Regions from separate parts of the Homo sapiens genome. Here regions 2, 3 and 4 are each linked to region 1. Evidence: promoter capture Hi-C in 16 types of primary human blood cells and fetal thymus (Javierre and others, 2016). All regions are on one chromosome and are shown on one strand. Each heading gives the region's core, a stretch centred on a gene start or on the middle of the fragment in contact. The rest is flanking DNA. Distances are from core to core; before and after follow the strand shown. Region 1 holds the start of SF3B5 (splicing factor 3b subunit 5). Region 2 overlaps LOC105378035 (a long non-coding RNA gene). Region 3 overlaps PHACTR2-AS1 (PHACTR2 antisense RNA 1). Region 4 has its middle 3.1 kb from the start of PHACTR2-AS1.

Region 1 (2,887 bases), core at 148-2,647:
AGACATTCCACGTAGAGGGAATAGCTTGTACAAGGAAATGGGGATGGACACAACAGGTAACATGGAGAAATACAGTTGTCCCTCAGTATTCGTGAGTGATTTGTTCCAGGACCCCCATGGATACCAAAACTAGAGGATGCTCAAGTCCCTGATATAAAACGGCTTGTATTTGCATATACGCACATCCTCCTGTATAGTTTGTCTCTAGATTATTTAACATACCTAATACAATGTAAATGCTATGTAAATAGTTGTTATACTGTATTGTTTAGGGAATAATAACCTTAAAAAGTCTGCATTTCGGTACAGACTGATATTTTCCCCCAATATTTTCAATCAGGTTGGTTGAATCCACAAAACCCACTGAATGGAAGAGCCAAGTAGGGTGAGGTGAGGCCTTGGAGGGAGGATATCAAAATAAGTGGCTAGAGAGGAAGGAGGAGCTTGAGGTGGAAGCCGGAATGTGTGGGAACTGGTGCTGTACTTGCTCACCAAGCACCCTGGTTAGAGCTGAAATAACTCTTTTATGCCACAAACTCCTAAGAGACATAGTTGGGACCAGAACTGGCGCCTGCTGACTTCTGGGTAATCCATCCCCGGTTGTGAAGGGACGGCCGTGCCGCCACGACGGCTCCGAAATACACCAAGAGTTTATTTTCGGGGCTGCTCGTAGTCCAGTCATTCTTGGGTTTCCCATTTCCTATCAGCCCCAAGCCACCCACGGATGCTCCCCACCTCCAGACATCGCCCTCCACTAGGTCCCCAGATCACTTTTAAAACGCGACCAGGGGCCGGGCGCGGTGGCTCACGCCTGTAATCCCAGCACTTTGGGAGTCCGAGGCGGGCGGATCACGAGGTCAGGGGTTCGAGACCAGTGAAACCCCGTCTTTACTAAAAATACAAAAAAACTAGCCGGGCGTGGTGGTGTGCAACTGTCATCCCAGCTACTCGGGAGGCTGAAGCAGGAGAATCGCGTGAACCCAGGAGGCGGAGGTTGCAGTGAGCCGAGATCGCGCCATTGCATTGCAGCCCGGGCAACAGTGCAAGACTCCGTCTTAAACAAACAAACAAACAAACAACAGAACGCGACCAGGAGTCCCGGAAGCCTGCGTGCACGAACTCCCAAGACCACAAGTCCCAGCATGCAACGCTCCTTGTTGGAAAAGGGCCTCCCTTAGCCACTAAGTGGACCATCATGCAACATTCTCTGATGGGGCGGGGATCTCCATGGAGGGGGGAGGCACACTTGTTGCGTCGCCTCAGCAACTCCAATTGCGTGACAGAATGTGCTTCCGCTTCCGCCTCTGAGCCCTATGAGCGAGAGTTACGCTACTTAGTCGTTGTGACGCCATTCTTCTGCGACGGCGCGGACCTGGAGCTTCCGCGCGGTGGCTTCACTCTCCTGTAAAACGCTAGAGCGGCGAGTTGTTACCTGCGTCCTCTGACCTGAGAGCGAAGGGGAAAGCGGCGAGATGACTGACCGCTACACCATCCATAGCCAGCTGGAGCACCTGCAGTCCAAGTACATCGGCACGGGCCACGCCGACACCACCAAGTGGGAGTGGCTGGTGAACCAACACCGCGACTCGTACTGCTCCTACATGGGCCACTTCGACCTTCTCAACTACTTCGCCATTGCGGAGAATGAGAGCAAAGCGCGAGTCCGCTTCAACTTGATGGAAAAGATGCTTCAGCCTTGTGGACCGCCAGCCGACAAGCCCGAGGAGAACTGAGACTCTGCCTTACCACCGCAGTGCGGGGCACCTCTCCCAGCGTTTCTCCGGTTTGCCAATCCTCTTAAGTATTCCTGTCTCCAAAGGACCGGCTCTCCATGGCTCCTGCGCCTCGTGCTTTCCGCGTACAGAAGTGCTTGCCCGGGGAGTCCCGCCTGACCTGCCTTCATGTGGACCCTTAGAACAGCACTGGGAGACCAGCAGGACTCCTGAGAACTGTGCTGGTGGAGAGGTCCTAGAGCCGGCGAGCGTTTGAGAAGAGGGCATGGCGCTGGAGTGAGATGGGATTTGGCGTCTCGTTTTTGGCTAATTGATTGTCATTGGCTTTTTCCATAAAGTTTAGAAATCGTTCAGTCTCTTGGTGTGAACTTTCTGTGTTAGGGTGGAAGGCTCCGGAAAGAGCTGAGCGGGAAGTGGGTTTGGGTGAGGGAGCGCATGCCAGTGTCCATGGCCAGGCACTTAGATCCGCCGTGTCTACCTTTATAATTAATTCCCCGACTGCCACTTTTCCCAAGAGCGTTATTTTCAGGCCCACAATGCCTTCAGTATTGAAATTTGTGGTTATTGTATCCCATCTTCTTTTTCTCCTGTTTTAAAACTCTTTGCAGTCTTTGCTGTCATTGTCCTCCCTAGCCTCTTTAAAATGCATCCTTTTTTTTTTCTTGGGAATTTGTGGCCATGTCTCCAGAAATGACAAGCTGGCAAGCGAGTTCATCCATTCTACATTCAACAAATATTTGTTGAGCTCTATGTGACAGGCATTTTCCCGTGTTCTTGGGGCTTACATTATGCTGGTGGTGGAGAAAGGAGGTCAAACACTAGATGTAATAAGCAAATGTTAGAAGATGCTGCGGGGAGGGGAGAACAATGTATGTGGTGCGGGTGGGAGTAGCTGGTAGGGCTGTAATCTTAAATATGATGCACAAGTTACTGAGATGGTGACATTTGAGCAAAGACTTCAGGAAAATGAGGGAAATGGCCATGCGGAAAACTGGAGAAATTGCTTTCCATGAAGAGGGAACTGCCAGTGCAATGGTACTAACGCTGGGAGTATGTATGGTTTATTGGAGGAACTTCAAAGAGGCAAGCATGGCTGGAGGGAGTGAGTAAGGGGAAAAGTAGAGGGACAGGTAATGGAGGGGAAAACAGAGTAG
Region 2 (2,887 bases), core at 178-2,677, 570 kb after region 1:
AATTCAAGATAAGATTTGGGTGGGAATACAGCCAAACCATATCAAAGAGTATATTATGATCCATGCTGATATGAAGGAAAATTATTCTGCCTTGGTATGAGATGGATTGTGAAAAAGAAGGACAAGATTTGCTGATTTATTCAAAACATATTTACTGCATGCTTACAATATACTGGCCCTCTTCTAATCAATGGCTGTACTGTAGAGAGCAAAGTAGATAAAGTTTTGCTCTCAAGAGACTTAAATTCTATAAGAGGCAGATTGTGCTAAGCAGGAAATGGCCCCTCAAAGACATCCATATCCTGGGCCAGGTGCGGTGGCTCATGCCTGTAATCCCAGCACTTTGGGAGGCCGAGGCGGGTGGATCACAAGGTCAGGAGTTCAAGATCAGCCTGCCAACATGGTGAAACCCTGTCTCTACTAAAAATACAAAAATTAGCTGGGTTTGGTGGCGCATGCCTGTAATCCCAGCTACTTGGGAGACTGAGGCAGGAGAATTGCTTGAACTCGGGAGGTGGAGGTTTCAGTGAGCCGAGATTGTGCCACTGCACTCCAGCCTGGGTGACAGAGCAAGACACCGTCTCAAAAAAAAAAAAAAAAAATACATCCACATCCTAATCCTTGTAATCTATAAATATGTTGTTACATGGCAAGGGGGAATTAAAATTGCAGCTAGAATTAAAGTTGCTAATCAGCTGACCTTAAAATAAGATTATCCTGCTTTATCTAGGCAAGCCCAATATAATCACAAGAGTCCTTGAATGGGGAAGCGGAAGGCAGAAGAGTGAGACCAGAGAGACAGCATCATGAGAAAGACTCAAGCTGCCTTTGCTGGCTTTAAAGATCAAAGGGGTCCACAAAATAAGAAATGAGGGCAGCCTCTAGAAGCTGAAAGAGGTAAGGAAACAGATTGTCCCCTGGAGCTTCCAGAAATAATGCAGCCCTGGCCACAGTGACTTTATCTCAGTGAGGCCCATTTCAGATTTCTGTCCTCAAGAACTGCAAGATAAATCTGTTTTCAGCCACTAAGTTTATGGTAATTTGCTACTGCAGCAATAGGAAACTAACAGAGAGATAGAACCAAATAAAATGAATAAATGAATGAATGAATGAATGACATAATGTCAGGAAACAGTAAGTGCTCAGATGAAAACTAAAGCAGGGCAAAGAGATGTGTAGTGAAGGGAGTGAGTGATGGGTGATATAACAGAAGTGATGTTTTTGAAAGATGAATGTGAGCTCCAGAGAGGTTAGAGGTGGGGAACTTGGAAACAGAGCCAAGCGATGTAGTCACATGACATGACCGAGACCCCCAGAGGCAGGCAGGGCTGGGTAGGCTCTTTCATGGGTCTCCCAATAGCTAAATCGTGGAGCTAAGTTGGTTGCTTTATGTTCCACACACAATACTCATAAGAAAGGCCTGGACACAAAATGTATTGCATAAGAAAAGAGAAATTGACTTAATCTTTTCGGCAAGTCATTTGAGAGTCCATTAACTTCTTCTCTTATGCACTTGGTCTAATCCAATACTGAGTCATTTCTTTGATTCATTCTTTTTTTTATTTACTTCTTGGTTTATTCACTTATTCATTAACTCATTCAATCAATAAGCATTTCCTGAGCACATTACCAAGTCTTGGGAGTACAACGGCGAGAAAAACAAATCTGGGCTCTGCCTTCATGAAGCACACTGTTGATTCTGTTGAAGGTTTCGTGTAAAAATACCAAACGACCACTAAGTTTGACATCCACTAATCAAAACCAGCACTGGCCTAGTCTTCCTTAAAATAGCTCTGGTCCATTCTTCTCTCTCCAACTCCACTGCTACAGCCTTTTCTTACCTGGGAGAAGTCGTCTCTAAAGGGGGTTCCCCCACCTGCATCCAGACCCTCTGCAGCACATCCTCCCTCTGCAACACATCCTCCTGCAACACATCCTCCCTTCCCCACCTGCATCCAGATCCTCTGCAGCACATCCTCCCTAACACAGTCAAAATAATCTTTTTAAGAAACAGATCTGCCCCATCACTCCTCTGACTAAAATCCTTCAATGTCCTCTCATTGTCTACCAAAACTGATCCAAGCCTCCCTATGATGTGGCATATTCCTCAGCCTTCTGGTATCCTATCTGCTTGACTCCACAAGGTGCTTGTGTCTTTCCTGCACTAGTGCCCTTGCCCAAGCTGCCCTCTCTGCTTAAAGTGCTTTGCATTTCTTCCTAGACAGTCTGCTGGACAGTCTGGACAGCAAATGTGTAGAGGTTGAGAGCACAGAGTTCATATTATTTAAATCCTGGTTCTGCCACTCAGTATAGCTGAGTGACTTTGGGCAAGCTAGGCAACCACTCTTTGTCTCAGTCCCTCATCTATAAAATGAGTGTAACAATATGATAATGGAAACGATCACAGGTTGGCGATGAGCTAATATATGTAAGTAAAGCACTTAGAACACTACCTGGCATACATACAGAAGCAGCTAACAGGCATTAGTTATTCTGTATCTTCCCACTGCTCAGCACCTCTACCCTGCACATATTTCGATAATTGTGCTTTTGGTCCGTATTGCATTTATTTATTTTCATGTAGGCTTGGCTCTTCTAGTCTGTCAGCTTTTTAAAGTCAAGGATGTCCTCTGATTCAGCCTTGAATCTTCTGGACTTGGCACATTTGTTAGTATATGTTAGGTGTTCAAAATGAATGAATGAATAAATTCAATAAAATGTGATTTTTAAAAGAGCAAAAGAAATAATTGAAAAAAATCATGTTATTTTGAGCATGTCACAAGCTATTATGAAGTACATAAACCAAATGGAGAAATCTTAGTGTTTTATATGTATCCATACATTTAAGATCACTTTTTAATATTTTCAACAAAAGAAGGGCAATCTG
Region 3 (2,887 bases), core at 220-2,719, 540 kb after region 1:
ATTACCTGGCCTTTAACCCTTCAGGAAGTGTTTACTCTTCAAAGGGAAAAGTTTGTCAAACCAAGTGAATCCTCTTGCCGAACCACATGGAGAACATATTTTGGAGAGAGATGGTAGGCGAGCTCCTGTGGCCCTCTCTAACTGAGGCTGGGGTTAGGGAGGGAGGCCCTTTCTTTCTGGCCTCATTTTTGTTTCAAAAGGAAATGTGGTCTCTCTGAGGGAGGAGGACAGACAGGCAGCATATCTTCTCACGTCTTTGTGCATCATTTTTATTAGTTCCTGGCCCATATTTTTAAAAAAGAATACTTACTCTTAAATGACACACTTTAAAAGCATGCTTTTCTAAATGGCAGCAATTGGACCCCATGGTGTGGCCAGTGCGTTGAGTCTGAAAATTCCATGGTGATGCGTCGCTGTGGTCCTGTGGTGATGTACGTCTTCCTTCTCCTCTAGTTAGCACCCTGTGAGCTGAGAGGTTCAAATCTGATAGCAGCTGAAAGCTTCAAACCTAGAGTCCTCCAAGCTGGGAAGCTGAATTGCTGCTCTAGGGCTGCGTTTAGATTGATTTTTTGAATGCTGTCACTGCAGAGGAGCTAGTCAACTTTTCTCAAAATATTTTTTCTCATCTTTTTCACTTTCCTCTCTCTAGTTTGACATACGGAGTTATGAATGTACTTTCTGGTTTTGTTATATGCCTCAATTTTTATTTTTGATGATTCTATCAAGCTGGCTGCCTTCAATGTTTTCTCCATTTAGTAAAATGCACTACTTCCTGTATTCCTCACCTCCCTCCACCAGATATTCACTCTCCTGGCCCACGCCTTGTGCCTGGCACGCAGGAGCATTGGAGATGCCCCACACCTAAAGTCCATACCTTAATGTCCTGAAATAAATAAATGAATTTAAGGAAGAAAGTCTGAAATGAACTGGGGCCGAATTATACAGTAGCTGGTATCACAAAATTCTAATCAAAGCTAGGGACTTTAGTAATGATCCCTGCCTGAAGTCCTAAAAGCATGCTCCTTTGTTAATTTCTTAACCATCATGAGTTTTCACTGTCCCTTCTGCTACTACCTTCAATGTAACACTACAAATAGATTAATTACTAAGAGTAAAAGGTTTGGTCTCTTTTCTTTTTGTTTTTTTTCTGTTTCTTTTTAAAAAAATTAATTGTGAAATAGCAAATTTAAAAGGATCATTTTTTTGAACAACAGTCTTTAAAAAAAAAAAAAAAGCTAAATGTCATAGTGCCCTAAATTCTTTTGTGTCGGTGGTGATTATATTGTATGTCAAGAAACCATCCTGAGGTGATAATTAGATTTTATCTGCAAATGGAGGTGGGAGGATGAGAGTAGGTGGTAGCGTCAACATTTCACCAAAACAATAAGACAATTCACACGATGAGGTAGGAAAAATATTACTCAAACAGCTGGCTGGGGCTACTGTGTGATTAAGGGAATTTTGACACCATAATCATCTAGGGTGGGGGTATATTTTATTTGCCTATGGCCAGACATTTAGGAAGGCAAACTGGAGCAAGAGGAAAAGCAGGAAAAAATAGACTGATAACCAAAATGTAAAATATTTCTGTGTTGATCATCAGGGAAGTGAATAACACAGGCCACAAAGACCCCTTTTTTTCCCACAGAACTTTTCAACAGATGGTTATACTAGTTGTTTCAGAATTAATACCAAGGATTGAGGGTTGGAGGCATGCAACTTAGAAGCAGTGCTGGTGTGAAAGTGATAAGGTTTTTGGCTCCAAGTAACACCTCCCAATTTGTACAGCAACCACAATAGAAATGTGCTTCAGGCAAGGTGGCGTCCTACATTTTAACTTACCCCCAAGAAAATATCCTGAATTTCACAGGTGTTCTCAGTAATATGACCTGACTGAAAATAGCTTCTCTTCTGTATTTTTCCCCAGGTTAAAATTAAGCTCGGCAGGCTCGACGTAAATGTGCAGACAAAGCAAAGCAGGAAGCCTCCCACACTAAAAAGGGAAGATAAGAATCACAGAAGCTGGGATGGTTTTTATTGAAGGGCATTTCAAAGCAAATACAGACATCTACAGCATATTTGTAAATCCTCCGTATGTGTATGGAAACACACACCTTCACACATCAAAACTGGATTTGTTCCTGAGTAACAAAACGTCCTAAGAACAAAATGAAAGAAAACCAAATAGCAGAAAAATACTTCCAATGTATATACCACAAAGGATTATTTATCAACTCAACACACCAAGAGTTAAGAAAATAATGCAACAGGAACAAAGGGCAAAGGATATGTACTGGGAAGACCACAGAGAAAGAAAATGCAAATGGCTAATAATATAAAATATTTCCTAGGTTCAATAGTAATCAGGGAAAGACAAAATTACACTTTTGACCTCTTAGACTGGCAGTGACAAAGATTATTTGAGTGACCAAGCTTTAGTCAGGCTCCTGGATCTTCTAGGCCCATCTGGGCACTTCCTCGTAAAATACAGTTTTAACAAAAGCCCTGCTAAATTGGTTTACCGAGAACTCCCACCCTCAATCGAGTTCCTTAGCCCTTCACCTTTCCTCAGGTGAGGGCTGATCATCCTGTCCTGTCTTCAGCAAGACTGCTCTAACGCTGACGTTTCCTTTTAGTAATTTTCCATCCACTGACACCCACTTGTAATTTATAGCCAAGGAGCAAGATACACTGCTCCTTGGCTATAAGTTATTTTCCCTGTTACATTCAGAGTTGAGCCCAATCCCACTCCCCGACTACAAAATCGATAGCAGTGGTCCCTATACCTATTGCAATGGTCCTAAATAAAACCTGCCTTACCGTGCTTGAACAAGTGTCATCGAATAATTTTTTAACAGCAAATTGTTGGAGGTAAAGACATTTTTAA
Region 4 (2,887 bases), core at 154-2,653, 520 kb after region 1:
GGGCCTAGTGGAAATTAGGCCCTCAGAGTGCTGCTAAATGGAAGGACTAAGCTCCATACAAATATAAGAAAGGCAGGTAAGTGATTTAGTCCACAGTTTCAAGGACATCATAATTTAGTTGAAGAAAAACAGCCACATAATTAACTAAGATAAGTGCCAACACAGGGACAAATAACATGATAGAATGCACAGAAAAAGATCTGTTATCAACAGAAACTTTTCCAAGCTACAGAAAACCAAAATCAAAAATACTTAGAAAAAAAAAAAAAGGAGGGAAAGAAAATTCATGGGTTCACAAAACTGGTTTGGAGGTAGGGCTGGCCTCAGGCTTAATTGCATCCATTCTCAAAGCTCAGAAATTCTCTAGGCTCTTCTCTCTTAACCTTCACAGTTGGGCTGGCTCCCATGGATGACAAACATAATAATGTAGCATCCAGGGACCTCCATGGAATAGAGAAGAAACTTCCATAAGACCTAGTGAAAGTCTCCATGCATCTCGATGGCCTGAATTGGATCAAGGACACACCCTTAAACCAAGCACGCAGCCATTGATGACTGGCCAAAGCCAAGTAAAGCCCAGGAACAAAGAATGGGTCAATCTCTCTAAATCACATGGTTGATAATGTGGGTTAGAGGTGGTTTCCCCACAGGAATATAACACTAAGGCATTTTCAACAGATGTTTACCACATGACCCTACTAGTTCTGAGTAGGAAGATCACGAATGTAATATACAATGAAATGCAATATATAAGAAAATTATACATATACCCAGTGAAGGGTCTATGAGAACATTAGGTACTAGTCTTGCCAGTTTTGTAAGGACAGAATTATTTCAAATTAGAAAGTAAAAAACATTTCATTTTTTATTTTGGATTCTTATCTGATGATGACCAAACTTCCACAGATAAAAGACATTATGCTTTTAGAATTTGATGATAATAGATTCATAGCAGTAAGATTTGTGAATTTCAAAAGAAAATAAACCACTGTTGGCTGGGCACGGTGGCTCATGCCTGTAATCCCAGCACTTTGGGAGGCAGAGGCAGGTGGATTGCTTGAGGTCAGGAGTTTGAGACCAGCCTGGCCAACATGGTGAAACCGTGTCTCTACCAAAAATACAAAAATTAGCTGGGTGTGGTGGCATGTGCCTGTAATCCCAGCTACTTAGGAGGCTGAGGCATGAGGATTGCTTGAGCCCGGGAGGTGGAGGTTGCAATGAGCCTAGATCGTGCCACTGCACTCCAACCTGGGGCAATGGAGAGATTCTCCATTTCAAAAACAACAACAACCACAATGACCAAAACAAAACAAAAAAACAAACAAACAAAAAAACCACTGTTAGTGTTTGAGTATGAATCAATCTATAATAAACACATAGTCACAAACACTCACACACATTCTATTTTGAAAAAATATATAGTTGGGATATATTTGATGGAGGCATTAGACTCTAGTTTTGGTCAAGAAACTTTCAGGTTCACTTCAGTGTTGAGGCTGTATATATTGATCAGATTGACTGGAAAATTGTCATGAGATCCAGAGAAACAGAGATGCTGTTATCAAAAATTCAGCAAAGAGGGAAGGTGTCAGGACAAAATATGATGAGGGGAGAATTCAAGCCAGTGAGGAGCTAAACTGCAGAAGATATTTACACGGGGCCAAAAGAATTTCTTAGCAAAAAACAAAGTCTACAACAACAAAAAGTCTAAAAGATATTGGACCTGTAGTTACCTACTAAAAAGAAATATAGAAGCAAGAAAGAGTAAAACAGATTTTTTGGTGAAAATCCTAGTTGTGTGGCTTCCCATTTTTTAGCATATGTATCAAAATAGGCTATGCTCCTCATAATCTGACATGTTTTTGGGACCAGTGTTTCATAAGAAATCAGTTCTGTAGATGGTAGAAGAATATCTAATATCTCCTACATAGAGATCTCCCATATGGTAAATATTAATTTTCCAAGAACATGAACAGAACGTTATAAATCTAACATTAAAATAATACTGAAAGCAGGGCTCATAGGAGAAAAGACTGATTCTAAAGCAGGGACAGAGAAAACACAAGATGAGTCTGGAACGTCTTGTGGTCCCAGAAAGTAAGGAAATGATTTTTTTAATGATGGGAGCATGGCAAATGGACACAGGAGTAAACTTGTACCAAACTCTCGATAGCCAATTGTACAACAATGTGGGCAACAAAATGAGTGATGATTGACCGGCCTGGGAAACATAGCAAGACCTCATCTCTATAAAAAAATTTTAAAAAAAATTAACCAGGTGTGGCAGTGCACACCTGTAGTCCCAGCTGCTCAGGAGGCTGAGGTGGGAGGATTGTTTGAGCTCAGTCAAGACTTTGAGGCCACAGTGAGCTATGATTGCACCACTGCACCAGCCTGGGTGACAGAGCTGGAGGGTCTCTAAAAAAAGAAATAAAGTAGATAGTAATGGATTATAGGATAAAGGAAATATCCATGAGACCACACTAATACAAATAAATAACTGAATGAATAAATAGCTCAGAAGAGGTAGCTCTTCATTGTAGTAGAATTCCAATTGATAAATGCAGAAGGATGATAACTAGAAAGTCACCATCTGACAAACACCGCAATGATAATTGTTACTAACAATGATAATTGTTAGTGGGATAATTGGCTAAATTTGAATGACAGCTGCAGATTAGTTAGAAGTACTGTACTGTACTGCTCTTTACCTACATTCCCTTCTTGATTTCCATCGTTGTACTACAGTTTTGTAAGATATTACCATTTGGGGAGTCCAGGTGAAGAGTATACGAGAACTCCATGTACCAGTTTTGCAGCAGCTAAAAGTTAAATGATCTTAAATTAGAAAGTTTTTTAAATTTCATGAAAAATAGGAATATAATTT

The links. The method cuts DNA at HindIII sites, captures the fragments that hold promoters and counts their contacts. A CHiCAGO score of 5 or more calls a contact.
Region 2: a fragment that was not itself captured here is called in contact with the fragment with the promoter of SF3B5 in region 1 in 4 of 17 cell types (M0 macrophages, activated CD4 T cells, erythroblasts and 1 more); the score reaches 5.8 in M0 macrophages.
Region 3: a contact is called between a fragment that was not itself captured here and the fragment with the promoter of SF3B5 in region 1, in 3 of 17 cell types (erythroblasts, M0 macrophages and M2 macrophages). The highest score is 9.6, in erythroblasts.
Region 4: a fragment that was not itself captured here is called in contact with the fragment with the promoter of SF3B5 in region 1 in 7 of 17 cell types (erythroblasts, M0 macrophages, M1 macrophages and 4 more); the score reaches 6.7 in erythroblasts.

Annotation. Positions count from the first base shown.
Region 1 is chr6:144,094,083-144,096,969 of GRCh38, reverse strand. It overlaps SF3B5 (splicing factor 3b subunit 5), which reads left to right and starts at 1,397. Exons shown (of 1, transcript NM_031287.3): 1 at 1,397-2,086. The coding sequence starts at 1,473. The coding sequence ends at 1,733. RefSeq lists an enhancer at 948-1,647. The HindIII fragment of the contact is 24,688 bases long and covers 1-2,887 here.
Region 2 is chr6:143,520,916-143,523,802 of GRCh38, reverse strand. It overlaps LOC105378035 (a long non-coding RNA gene), which reads right to left. Exons shown (of 4, transcript XR_007059796.1): 3 at 1-2,887. Among named protein-coding and RNA genes, the nearest start is that of FUCA2, 11 kb to the right of the region's middle. The HindIII fragment of the contact is 5,877 bases long and covers 1-2,887 here.
Region 3 is chr6:143,554,271-143,557,157 of GRCh38, reverse strand. PHACTR2-AS1 (PHACTR2 antisense RNA 1) reads left to right here. Exons shown (of 3, transcript NR_027113.2): 3 at 1,928-2,887. It also overlaps a transcript of PHACTR2 not described here. Among named protein-coding and RNA genes, the nearest start is that of PHACTR2-AS1, 14 kb to the left of the region's middle. The HindIII fragment of the contact is 1,933 bases long and covers 503-2,435 here.
Region 4 is chr6:143,570,959-143,573,845 of GRCh38, reverse strand. It overlaps a transcript of PHACTR2 not described here. Among named protein-coding and RNA genes, the nearest start is that of PHACTR2-AS1, 3.1 kb to the right of the region's middle. The HindIII fragment of the contact is 7,387 bases long and covers 1-2,887 here.